Regions from separate parts of the Homo sapiens genome. Here regions 2 and 3 are each linked to region 1. The links are contacts of gene promoters, found by promoter capture Hi-C in blood cells and fetal thymus (Javierre and others, 2016). All regions are on one chromosome and are shown on one strand. Each heading gives the region's core, a stretch centred on a gene start or on the middle of the fragment in contact. The rest is flanking DNA. Distances are from core to core; before and after follow the strand shown.

The links. Contacts are between HindIII fragments. The CHiCAGO score rates a contact against its expected background, and 5 or more counts as called.
Region 2: a contact is called between a fragment that was not itself captured here and the fragment with the promoter of ABCA8 in region 1, in 1 of 17 cell types (erythroblasts). The highest score is 5.3, in erythroblasts.
Region 3: a fragment that was not itself captured here is called in contact with the fragment with the promoter of ABCA8 in region 1 in 1 of 17 cell types (M2 macrophages); the score reaches 6.3 in M2 macrophages.

The regions. Positions count from the first base shown.
Region 1 is chr17:68,953,800-68,957,663 of GRCh38, reverse strand. ABCA8 (ATP binding cassette subfamily A member 8) reads left to right here and starts at 2,272. Exons shown (of 40, transcript NM_001288985.2): 1 at 2,272-2,445. The HindIII fragment of the contact is 10,640 bases long and covers 1-3,864 here.
Region 2 is chr17:69,195,646-69,199,509 of GRCh38, reverse strand. ABCA10 (ATP binding cassette subfamily A member 10) reads left to right here. Exons shown (of 39, transcript NM_001377321.1): 11 at 2,388-2,446. Among named protein-coding and RNA genes, the nearest start is that of ABCA10, 31 kb to the left of the region's middle. The HindIII fragment of the contact is 5,558 bases long and covers 1-3,864 here.
Region 3 is chr17:68,789,194-68,793,057 of GRCh38, reverse strand. No RefSeq gene overlaps it. Among named protein-coding and RNA genes, the nearest start is that of LINC01482, 160 kb to the right of the region's middle. The HindIII fragment of the contact is 8,140 bases long and covers 1-3,864 here.

The DNA of each region.
Region 1 (3,864 bases), core at 1,023-3,522:
AAAGTTGGGAGAATTGTCAAAGGTGCCCACTTTCCCTTCTGCATTATGATAGTTTTTACCCTACAGGCCAAGGACTCAGCATGGAAGTTATTCTAACTACTAGATATGTCAATTCTAACAGCACATTTGGTGACAGCAAAATCACCACTGGGTATGTCCATAAGTCCAGTGAGACGAGGCAGAGCTGCTTGTTAACCGGAACTCCATTTACGACCTTGGCTCTATATTCTCAATCTAGCTGTAGGGCCTTAGTGTGGGTTGCAGTTATCAATGTCCACTCTGACTTTATGCCCAACAACCCTTGACATGTCTGGGGATTTTTCTTTCTTCAGTGTATAATCACCCAAATAATGGCTTTAGGTCCCTTTGAGGGAGGACTAGGAAGTATAATCACCACAGTATATACTTGTCAAGATGTTGCAAGATCTTTTCTTCTAGGGGTCTGACTAGTTTTTTAATCAATATGTTCTGTATCTGAAAAGTAGCTTAGGACTAGGAGCTGAGCAAGAGATCATGACTTTTTATTGGGGTGATGGAGACCATGTTGAGCCTCTTACTCCTCTATTTCTTCCCCTTCTGGTTATATAGTTACTGAGCAGCACCCTTGTTGACCTCCTTCCTATTTTGTCTGTATATCATAGTAAGGTTTATATATTTCACTTAAAATGAAGAAATATTAATTCTGGGTAAAGCATGTCAAGTTAAGTATGTCTTTTGTAATCCTGAGAGTGACCACTAAAATAACTATACAAATAGATACAGTTAAGAAACATAATAGATACGTTGAAATGCAATACCAAAAAATAATTTCAAATAACCAACAAGAAAGCAGAAAATGGGAAATAGGAGAATTAAAACCAGAGAGAAAAGAAGCAAATAACAAAATGGCAGATCTGATTTTAAAAATCAATAGCTACATAAAATGAAAATAATTTAAACACACCCATTAAAAGATGTGCATTGTCAAATTGGATTTTAAAAACCAAACTCATGACTCTATTATATGCCATCTACAAGAAACTCACTTGAAATACAATTTAGAGCTGGGTATAGTGGCATGTATCTGTAGTTTCAGCTACTCAGGAGTCTGAGATGGGAAGATCACTTGAACCCAGGAGTTCAAGTCCAGCCTTGGCAACATAGCAAGACCATCATCTTAAAAAAATAATAACAAACACAGACGCACACACACACATACACACACACGCATACACATATAATATGAATGTGATGTTTGGCAGGGCCAACAGAATTGAGATCATAACTGCCACTCTGAAAGCATATAGTGTGTGTGTGTGTGTGTGTGTGTGTAGATAAAAATAAACGGATGAAAACAAAATACCACGAAAACAATAATCACAGGAAAGTAAGAATGGCTATATTATTAATATGAAACAAAGTAGACTTTAGAACACAAAAGTTACTAGAGATAAAGATTAACATTACATAATGATAAAAGGGTCAATTCACCAAGAAGACATAACAATTCCAAATGTTGCAAAATACATCAGGCAAAACATGATAGTTTTAAAGGGAGAAATTTGAAAGTCCCTAAGTTTTGTTAAAATCTTCAACATTCCTCTCTTAGTAATCAACAGAACTAGGAGACAGAAAATTAGGAAAAATATAGAAAAAACTGAACAATATCATCAACCAACTAAATGTAATAGATATTATATAATATTCCACTCAACACCAAAAAACTATACAACTTTTCAAGTGCCTATGGAATATCTGCCAAGATAGATCATATCCTGGGTCATCAAATAAGCCTTAACAAATTTGACATACAAAATATTTTTTCTGAGTATAATTGAACTTCTGATTTAAAATTAAATCAATAACCAAAAGATAAGAAAATCTTCAGACACTTGGAAATTAAGCACATTTCTGATTAATCCGTGGGTCAAATAAATTGGAAAATAGTCTGAACTGAGTGAAAATGAAGCTGGGAAGCAGAGGAATGAAAATTTTGATTATCTAGGTAAAGCTGTCAATTAAGCAGACTAGAGCTCTGGGTAGAGAGAAGAGCTTTTCTCTGATTAAGCTGTTTACTTTCTCATGGCTTAAAGACAGCACTTTAAATTTTGGTATTAGCCACAATAATCTTGGACGTAAAAGAGAAATTGCTCCCTATAATATGATATAGCCAGGCAACCCAGTATAAATGCCACTGCTCTGCAGGAACTGGCCGAATATCAATGAGAAGACAAACAGTCCAAGCATGATGACGTGAATGTGATGTTTGGCAGGGCCAACAGAATTGAGATCATAACCTCCACTCTGAAAGCAGTCTTCACAGAAACTTTTCACAGAAGTCAAATAGTTAAAGCAAATTCTAGATACATGGTAGAGACCAGGAGAAAATATGAATAACTTTCTTCTAAACAAGGAGCTCAGTGGATAAACCATACCTCTAGATTCCTTGCTTCCATTTTCCCAGAAGTAAGTTCACTGTATTTTTTCTGTTTTGTTTTGTATTTTGCTTTTGTGTGTGAGTTTGTTTCAGAGGTTTTGTCTTTTCTTATTCCTATCACAAAATTATAAATAAACCTTTATAAACTGAATGACAATCATCTATGCAGAAATTATTTTGAAAAATATTGGGCTACTTTAAAGATTTTATATCTGGTAATTAATATTAGATAAATAAAAACATTGAGTTAGAATGTTTTTTAAAAAATTATGCAAACATTATGTTGTTTTAAACATAACTGAGTGTAGAAATAAGTTTAAATTGGCTAAAAATTTTTTGTGAAGAGCTTAGAGTTTTAAGAATTGGGTTGGAAGACTGAGTTGTTTTTGAAGTTAAAGTTATCTACTTTGATTGCACAATAATGTAGGGCATTTTGGATAAGTGTTCTTCTGACTTTAAGACTGTTTACCAAGAGCACTTACAGAAATATTTTTATTGTTCCTATCGCTCACTCTTAGTCTATAAGAATTTTAGAAATGTAAGATTCTTTCTAGGATCTTTTACTCGTTGGATACAGTGAGTTGAATCAGAATGTGAAATATGTAGCTTCTCTTTACCACAATGTTATTTAAAATGTACATTGGTAAAAAGAATTTTCATACTCCTATAGTGAATACATGTTGTTCTGAATTTTACAACAGTATAAGAGGATAAAAATGAGTCATTACAATTTGAGACTATTTGCCATATGTATAATAAAGTATTCATGTTTTTGCTAGCCTTTACATAAACTGCAGAACATACAAAAATTGGAAAGAAACAAAGTTGGCAATAATACTTTACGATGGAAGATATAAGGGATTGGAGTCAGACTGGAGTTTGCATGCTACCTAAGACTGTAGCTGATTCCATAGTGAGGAGATCATCCTCTTGGCCAATGTCTATTAACTTCGCCAGTGAATTATGCATTTCTGTAGAGAAGCTGTGATATATTTGGGCTTGTGCATGAGGTGGAGTGTAGGGAAACATCACACTCTGGGGACTGTTGTGGGGTGGGGGGAGGGGGGAGGGATAGCATTGGGAGATATACCTAATGCTAGATGACGAGTTAGTGGGTGCAGCGCACCAGCGTGGCACATGTATACATATGTAACTAACCTGCACAATGTGTACATGTACCCTAAAACTTAAAGTATAATAATAAAACGAAAAAAAAAAAAGAAATTCCTCCTGTACAGAGCTTGCATTGGCGGCAGCTGCTTTAAGAACCCAGAAACTTTTGCCCTCTCTGTAGGCTAGCTCACTGTGAAAATATCCCATGGATTTTACCTAAAATTGCTTACAGAGAGCGGCATTATACTTCTATAGATAATTGCATCAGTAACCAGAGAGGAGAAGTACAGCAGCAGACTACCCTCTACCCCCGGTAGGAGTAGTAGCACATCACA
Region 2 (3,864 bases), core at 817-3,316, 240 kb before region 1:
CCCTCTATATGTACCTAGAGATAGAGGGAACATCCTATAGGAAGTGGCCTAACATGCCTGAAACCAGGAACTCTTTGATCATTCTGGACCAGACTGTTCCTATTGACAAATTAATTACTTTTTTAACTTATTCATCATTAATCAGTCCCTCTGCTAGAATTAGGATACAGAGATTAATGATAGTCTTTAACCTCAGGAAGTACAGAGTCTAAGGAAATAGATACTAAAATAGATAACTGATAAGTAGTAGAGCTGAACACAGAGAATTAAAAGAAATAAAGAAGGATCATCCAACCTAGTGTAGTGTAGTGGGGAAAGTCAAAAGGAGGTGACTCTTAAGGTGAGTCTTATGAAAGAGAAAGGTCTTGGTCATATAAAGTATGGTGGGGTATGTGAAGGTCCTTCCACACAGGGGATATGGCATAAGCCACCTAGTAGAGCAAGACACAGTGTGTATGTATAGGGAACACAAGGAACTAACATTTCTGACCTTAAAGTACAAGAAAAGAGAGAGGTTAACTTTAAGAGGTAGGCACCAAATCTGATCATGGAAGATTTTGCTTGCCAAGGTAAGGAGATTAGGCTATCCTGTATAGTGTGGGGAATCACTGAATGATTTTAAGGAGGCAAATTAGGTAACCAGAACTTTGATAGATCACTTTGGCAGCTTTATGAAGAATGGATTTGAGGGTGACACAACTGGAGAAATGGAAATATTTACGATATTTTACCAGTCTAGGTCTGGTCAGGAAAAGTGAGTTGCTGGAAATATTGTGGGAGTAAAGGAGTTTAATACAGGGATTAGGGATTCACAAATGTACAAGAGTTAGAGGAGAGAAGGTTAAGTTACAACCAGAAAGTCAGGAAATAGCCACTGAGGACCTTAGCCTGATGCACAGAAATGGGTGTTTTTCAAGAAGTTTGTCAGTATACTGCTGCAAATGTCAGGGATTTTCTGGGAAATCTCTCACCAGTTATCTCAATCTGCAGTAGCAAAGCAGTCCTTGTCAAGAAGTCTGAGAAGCTGCTGCAAACCTCGAGCCTGCGTATATGCTTGGCTCACGTGACCCGAGAATAATGACCTTGCTTCATTTCTGCTCTCCAAATCTTGCCCAAGTTCTTCTCATTAGCAAAATCTGATACTGAAAAGAGGGTTCCGTGAAATGTAGTCTCTGATATGTCCTCCGCATTGCAGAAGGAAAGAGACTGTTGCTGATAGACAAGGGACAATTAAAAATAAAGCACAGAGGTCATAGCCCTGGTTGAGGTGAAAGATGACAAGAGCCTGGGCAAGAAGGCACAAGAAAAGTAGTAAAGAGATAAATTCAAATAGATTTATAAAGTTAAATTCATAAATTCTTGAAGTTAAATTGTAATAATTTTGTAGGTCACAGGATGGGGTGAAAAAGGGAGAGAGAGAGAGTTAAGGATGCCTCTCAGGCTCTTAGCTTGAGTTCCTGGGTAGATAGTAGAAATTCTAACTGAGATAGAGAATGGAAGTGGGCCAGTTTAGAGGAAAATATAATGCGTTCAGTTTGATATCCAAGTGTAGATATATAGTAAAAAGCAGAATATCTGAAACTTTGAAGAAATCTCTAAAACACAAATTTGGGAATCATTAGAATTTAGGTAGGAGTTGAAGCCATGAGAGTGGGTAAGATTGTATGGCAAAGGTTTGAGAATAAGAAAAATAGTTGGCCAAGTATAAAATCCAATTTAAGGAGTCCATAAAGTACGCCAAAACGGAATAGTAAGAGGAAGATGTGGAACCAAAGTGTAGAAGCCAGGGAGTTAGAGACTTAAGAAAACAAAAGAGTGAGTAATAGTTTAAAACAGTGATGAAGTATATCAAATAAGGACTAAAAAGTGTTCATTAGATTTGGTAACTAGAATGGTCATTGGTGAATTTCATTGGGAATAGTTTTTTGTGGAGTAGTATAGTGAGAAGCTATGTTGTCTTAGGTTGGGAAATAAATGTGGGATAAAGCAATGGAAATAGGGAGTAAAGATTATTATTTTGACAAATTTGCCTGTGAAAGATAATGATTGAGAGGGATTCAGGATTGAGGGAAAGCCTCTCTCCCTTTTTTCTTTCGCTCCCTTCCTTCTTTCCTTCTTTTTTTTTTCAATTTTAGCTTTCCCTTATTTATTTGATAACTTAGAGAAATAGCTGGAATATATGAAATGCCAAGTTTGATAAGAGTATTAGCAGGTCTGTGTAAATCTCTTTTGGGAGTGGTCAGGGGAGGGCTTTTATTACTGCCCTCCTTACATCCCACTGAGAGTGATACCCTTTACTGTGAAGTTCAGGCTTAGTTATGAACTGTAATCTGTGTTATTAATACTAGAAAATGCATTTACATGAAAATTACTTCATCTTCTTTCAGAATCAGAAATGTTATAAAAGAATATAATGGAAAGACTGGAAAAGTAGAAGCATTGCAAGGTAAAAAGAAAAACTCCCTCTCCCTCTCCCTCTCCCTCTCCCCCTCCCCCTCCCTCTGTCCACGGTCTCCCTCTGATGCCAAGCGGAGGCTGGACTGTAGTGCCGCCATCTCGGCTCACTGCAACCTCCCTGCCTGATTCTCCTGCCGAGTGCCTGCCGAGTGCCTGGGATTGCAGGCGCGTGCTGCCACGCCTGACTGGTTTTCGTATTTTTTTGGTGGAGACGGGGTTTTGCCGTGTTGGCCGGGCTGGTCTCCAGCTCCTAACCGCGAGTGATCTGCTAGCCTCAGCCTCGCGAGGTGCTGGGATTGCAGACGGAGTCTCGCTCACTCAGTGCTCAGTGTTGCCCAGGCTGGAGTGCAGTGGCGTGATCTTGGCTCGCTACAACCTCCACCTCCCAGCCGCCTGCCTTGGCCTCCCAAAGTGCCGAGATTGCAGCCTCTGCCCGGCCGCCACCCCATCTGGGAAGCGAGGAGCGTCTCTGCCTGGCTGCCCATCGTCTGGGATGTGAGGAGCCCCTCTGCCCGGCCTCCCAGTCTGGGAAGTGAGGAGCGCCTCTTCCCGGCTACCATCCCGTCTAGGAAGTGAGGAGCGTCTCTGCCCCGCCGCCCATCGTCTGAGATGTGGGGAGCGCCTCTGCCCCGCCGCCCATCATCTGGGATGTGAGGAGCGCCCCTGCCCGGCCGCGACCCCGTCTGGGAACTGAGGAGTGTCTCTGCCCGACCGCCACCCTGTCTGGGAGATGAGGAGCGTCTCTGCCCGGCCGCCCCGTCTGAGAAGTGAGGAGCCCCTCTGCCCGGCAGCCACCCCGTCTGGGAAGTGAGGAGCATCTCCGCCCGGCAGCCGCCCCCTCCAGGAGGTGGGGGGCAGCCCCTGCCCGGCCAGCCGCCCAGTCCGGGAGGGAGGTGGGGGGCAGCCCCCGCCCGGCAGCCGCCCCGTCTGGGAGGTGGGGGGCCCCTCTGCCCAGCCGCCACCCGCTCTGGGAGGTGTACCCAGCAGCTCATTGAGAACGGGCCATGATGATGATGGCGGTTTTGTCCAGTGGAAGAGGGGGAAGTGTGGGGAAAGGAAAGAGAAATCAGATTGTTGCTGTGTCTGTGTAGAAAGAAGTAGACATGGGAGACTCCATTTTGTTCTGTACTAAGAAAAATTCTTCTGCCTTGGGATGCGGTTAATCTATGGCCTTACCCCCAACCCCTTGCTCTCTGAAACATGTGCTGTGTCCACTCAGGGTTAAATGGATTAAGGGCGGTGCAAGATGTGCTTTGTTAAACAGATGCTTGAAGGCAGCATGCTCCTTAAGAGTCATCACCACTCCCTAATCTCAAGTACCCAGGGACACAAACACTGCGGAAGACCGCAGGGTCCTCTGCCTAGGAAAGCCGGAGACCCTTGTTCACATGTTTATCTGCTGACCTT
Region 3 (3,864 bases), core at 371-2,870, 160 kb after region 1:
AAGCATGACTACCTAGCAATAGGATTAGACCTGTGGTAACTTTGTAACTTTGGTCTGATGTCATAGTTTTGTGTGTGTGTGTTTTTTTGTTTGTTTGTTTGTTTTTGGTGTGACCGGAGTTAGTAAAAGCTGAGAGAAGTAGAAAGATGAAATAAAACAAACAGTCCAAGGTTACCCTGCAAAAATTAACTCCAAGCCTGAGAATCAGTATGCAGAAAAAATAGCAACGTGTATAGTGTCAATTTCTTTTTGTCAGCTCCAGTTTATGAGAAGAAAATGATGGTAAAGAGTATAGCTAAAATTTTGGTCTTCTTTCAAGGTTTGCCATGTAGATAAATGTGTCTAGGAGTTTGTAAACCACAAAACAACAGGGAAACTCAATCCTCAAAACCTTCCATTTACAAATGAAAGCCTTCTCTTTACAGGGCTTACAGAAATAACCATACAAAATTAGCCACTTACTGTTATTTATAACCACATGGAATATGGCAAAATAATTTTGGCTTGATTCTTATTCCTGTTTATACTGATAATCCCAACTGCCATATATTCAAATTCCAGATAGATGAGGCACTAGAGGTCTTATGGAGTCTCTTTCTCTCTTTTCCTTTTTCCTTACCCAGTACTTTTTTTTTTTTACCCTTTCTCCTTGTAGTTCTGTGTGAAATATAAAACAATTTTTGAAAATGATGAAACACCCTGCATAATTAGATTTCATCATTTGTTCTCTTGCTTCTTTTGCCCCTCATTGTATAACAATTGCAGATCCTTTCTTTTCCTGAAATCATTATGTTTTCCCCCACTCCCTTACGTTACGCAATAAACTTGGAGTGATATTAACGTCTTGTTTTGAAATGAGGGAGAAAGAATAGAAAAAAAATGTCAAGGGCTTTTGGCTTTCTTAATGCCTTGTAGAGCATTTAGTGTTGTTCAATGCCTCATTTGATTCTCAAAAATATTAATCAAGGGTAACAAATGAGATGCCTTACTCAGAATGTGAGGACTAGCTCAAGAAACTGCCCAGCAACTGAAGTGAGTGCATTGGCTATGCACCTTGTTACCAGAATCTTTCTGCTGAGCTTGGAATTTAGTGTTTTGCACATTTCTTCTAACCTGGACATCTTACGTGGATGTGACTTTTAGTTTAGATTTAGGGAGGACATGTGTAGGTTTCTTATGTTGGCATATTGTGTAATGCTGAAGTTTGGGGTATGATTGATCCCGTCATGCGGGTGGTGAGCATAGTACCCAACAGCTAGGTTTTCAGCCCTTTCCCCTTCCTCCCTCCCCACTTTTAGAGTCTCCAGTATCTATCATTTCCATCTTCGCATCCATGTGTACATCCAGTGTTTAGCTCCCACTTATAAGTGAGAACATGTGGCATTTTGTTTTCTGTTCCTGCATTAGTTTGCTTAGGATAGCGGCCTCTGGATGCATCCATGGTGCTGCAAAGGACATGATTTCATTCTTTTTATGGCTGCATAGCATTCCATGGTGTACATGTACCACATTTTCTTTAGCCAGTCCACCGTGGATGGGCACCTAGGTTGATTCCATGTCTTTGCAGTTGTGAATAGTGCTGTGATGAATGTACAAATGCATGAGTCTTTTTGCCAGAAGTATTTATTTTCCTCTGGGTATGTACCCAGTAATGGGATCACTGGGTTGAATGGTATTAATAGTTCTGTTTTTAAGTTCTTTAGATGCTGATTTCTTGCAGCTGTTAATATATTTTTAGACTTTTGAAAGCGATAGCCAAAAAATACTTCCTCTTATCTCTTAATGATCCACATTGCAGCTTAGAGTCCAGTGGTCCACACGTTAATGTTACATAAGCTGATGGCTCTGGCCCATTTTGAGCTGTTGAGATGTCAGATAGGAGTAATATAACTATCTCTGCCAGAGGTCACTCTAGGATTCCTGGCAGATTGAGCGATCAACTGTGCGGGGTGGTCCAAGACTGAAGAGGTTCCCAGAACAAAGGACTTTAACTTTTAAAACTGAAAAAGTTCCAAGCAAACCAGATGAGTCTGCCCTGACTCAACCCACAGTGGGTGTCCGAGTCTGTGCCGTATGATGGTGCCCTGGGTCTGCCACAGCCTTCCCCTTTCCAGTTTCTCATCCCTTGTTACCCTTATTCCCACCTTTGAATACGAGCCCCTCTAGTCATTTATCATTTCCTTTCACAAACTTTCAAATCCTCAACCCCAAACACAGAGCTGAACTAGGATGTTGGCTAATCAAGGTGAAGGTCTGAGATGGATGGGGATGTCTCTACTTAACCACCTTGCTGCTGCAGACCTCACTCAGTTAACTGTGAACACATCTCTTACCAGCATTGACCGGGCCTCATTGCTGTCTGAGAGGCAAGTTTCCAAAATCTGATTCACTTTTGAAACCTATGTGAGTTTCCTGTAGGGCCCTCCCCACTGCCCAATTTCCTAACATAAGAGATAGAACTTCCAGCCCAGTTTCTGCCATTAGCAATCCGTGCATCCCACGGCCTCTTGCTACTGGCAACCCCTCATCCTAAGGACAGCTCTTGTGGGAGTCAAGATGGTGCAAGCCCAGTTGACTTCCTTGGTGGCCCACCACATGACCTGTGGAAACACTGCAGACCCTTGGCACAAAATGGATGGGAGTACAGCTGCTCTTCCCTCATGCCTCTCCCCACCCTACCAGTTTGTTCTAATCCTCTTCTTCCTTAGGAACAGATCAGCAAATGCAGTGTCTAAGCAGAAATCCAGTTAAGGAAAGGAAGGCAAGTGCTCCCTTCTGGGCATCACCCTCCCTATCATCTTTATTACAGATTCTCTTGGAAACTCTCTCCCTCTCCCATTCTTGGATGTAGTGAGGGGAGGGAAAAGGGGAAACCTCTCACTACAAACTCTGCATTTCCCATGTGGCCAGTGACAGGATCCTTCCCCATCTCCTCAAGAGTGGGGGGCTAAAATAAAATTAAATACCTAGGAATTAACTTAACCAAAGAAGTGAAGGATCTCTATAATGAAAACTATAAAACACTGATGAAAGAAACTGAAGAGGAAACAAAAAAATGGAAAAAGATTCCATTTTCATGGATTGGAAGAATCAGTGTTGTTAAAGAACACTGTTGTTACTCAAAGAAATCTACAGATTCAATGCAATCCCCATCAAAATACCAATAACATTCTTCACAGAAATAAAAAACATCCTAAAATTTATATGAAACCAAAAATGGCCCAGAATAACGAAAGCTATTCTAAGCCAACAGAAAAAAAAAACTGGAGGAATCACATTACCTGACTTCAAATTATACTACAGAGCTATAGTAACCCAAATGGCATGGTACTGACATAAAAACAGACTCATAGACCAATGGAACAGAATAGAGGACCCAGAAACAAATCTACACACATACAGTGAACTCATTTCCACCAAAGGTGCCAAGAACATACACTGGAGAAGAGACGGTCTCTTCAATAAATGGTGCTGGGAAAATGGGAATCCATATGCAGAAGAATGAAGCTAGACCCCCATCTCTCACCATATAAAAAATCAAATGAAAATAGTTTAAAGATTTAAATGTAAAGCATCAAACTATGAAACTACAAGAAAACATTGGGGAAAATCTCTAGGACATTGGTCTGGGCAAATATTTCTTAAGCAATGCCCCACAAGCATAGGCAACCAAAGCAAACATGGACTAATGGGATCACATCAAGTTAAAAAGTTTCTTCACAGCAAAGCAAACAATCAACAAAGTGAAGAGACAATGCACATAATGGGAAAAAAACATTTGCAAACTACCCCTCTGACAAGAGATGAAAAACAAGAATATATAAGGAGCTTATACAACTCTATAGGAAAATAATCTAATAATCC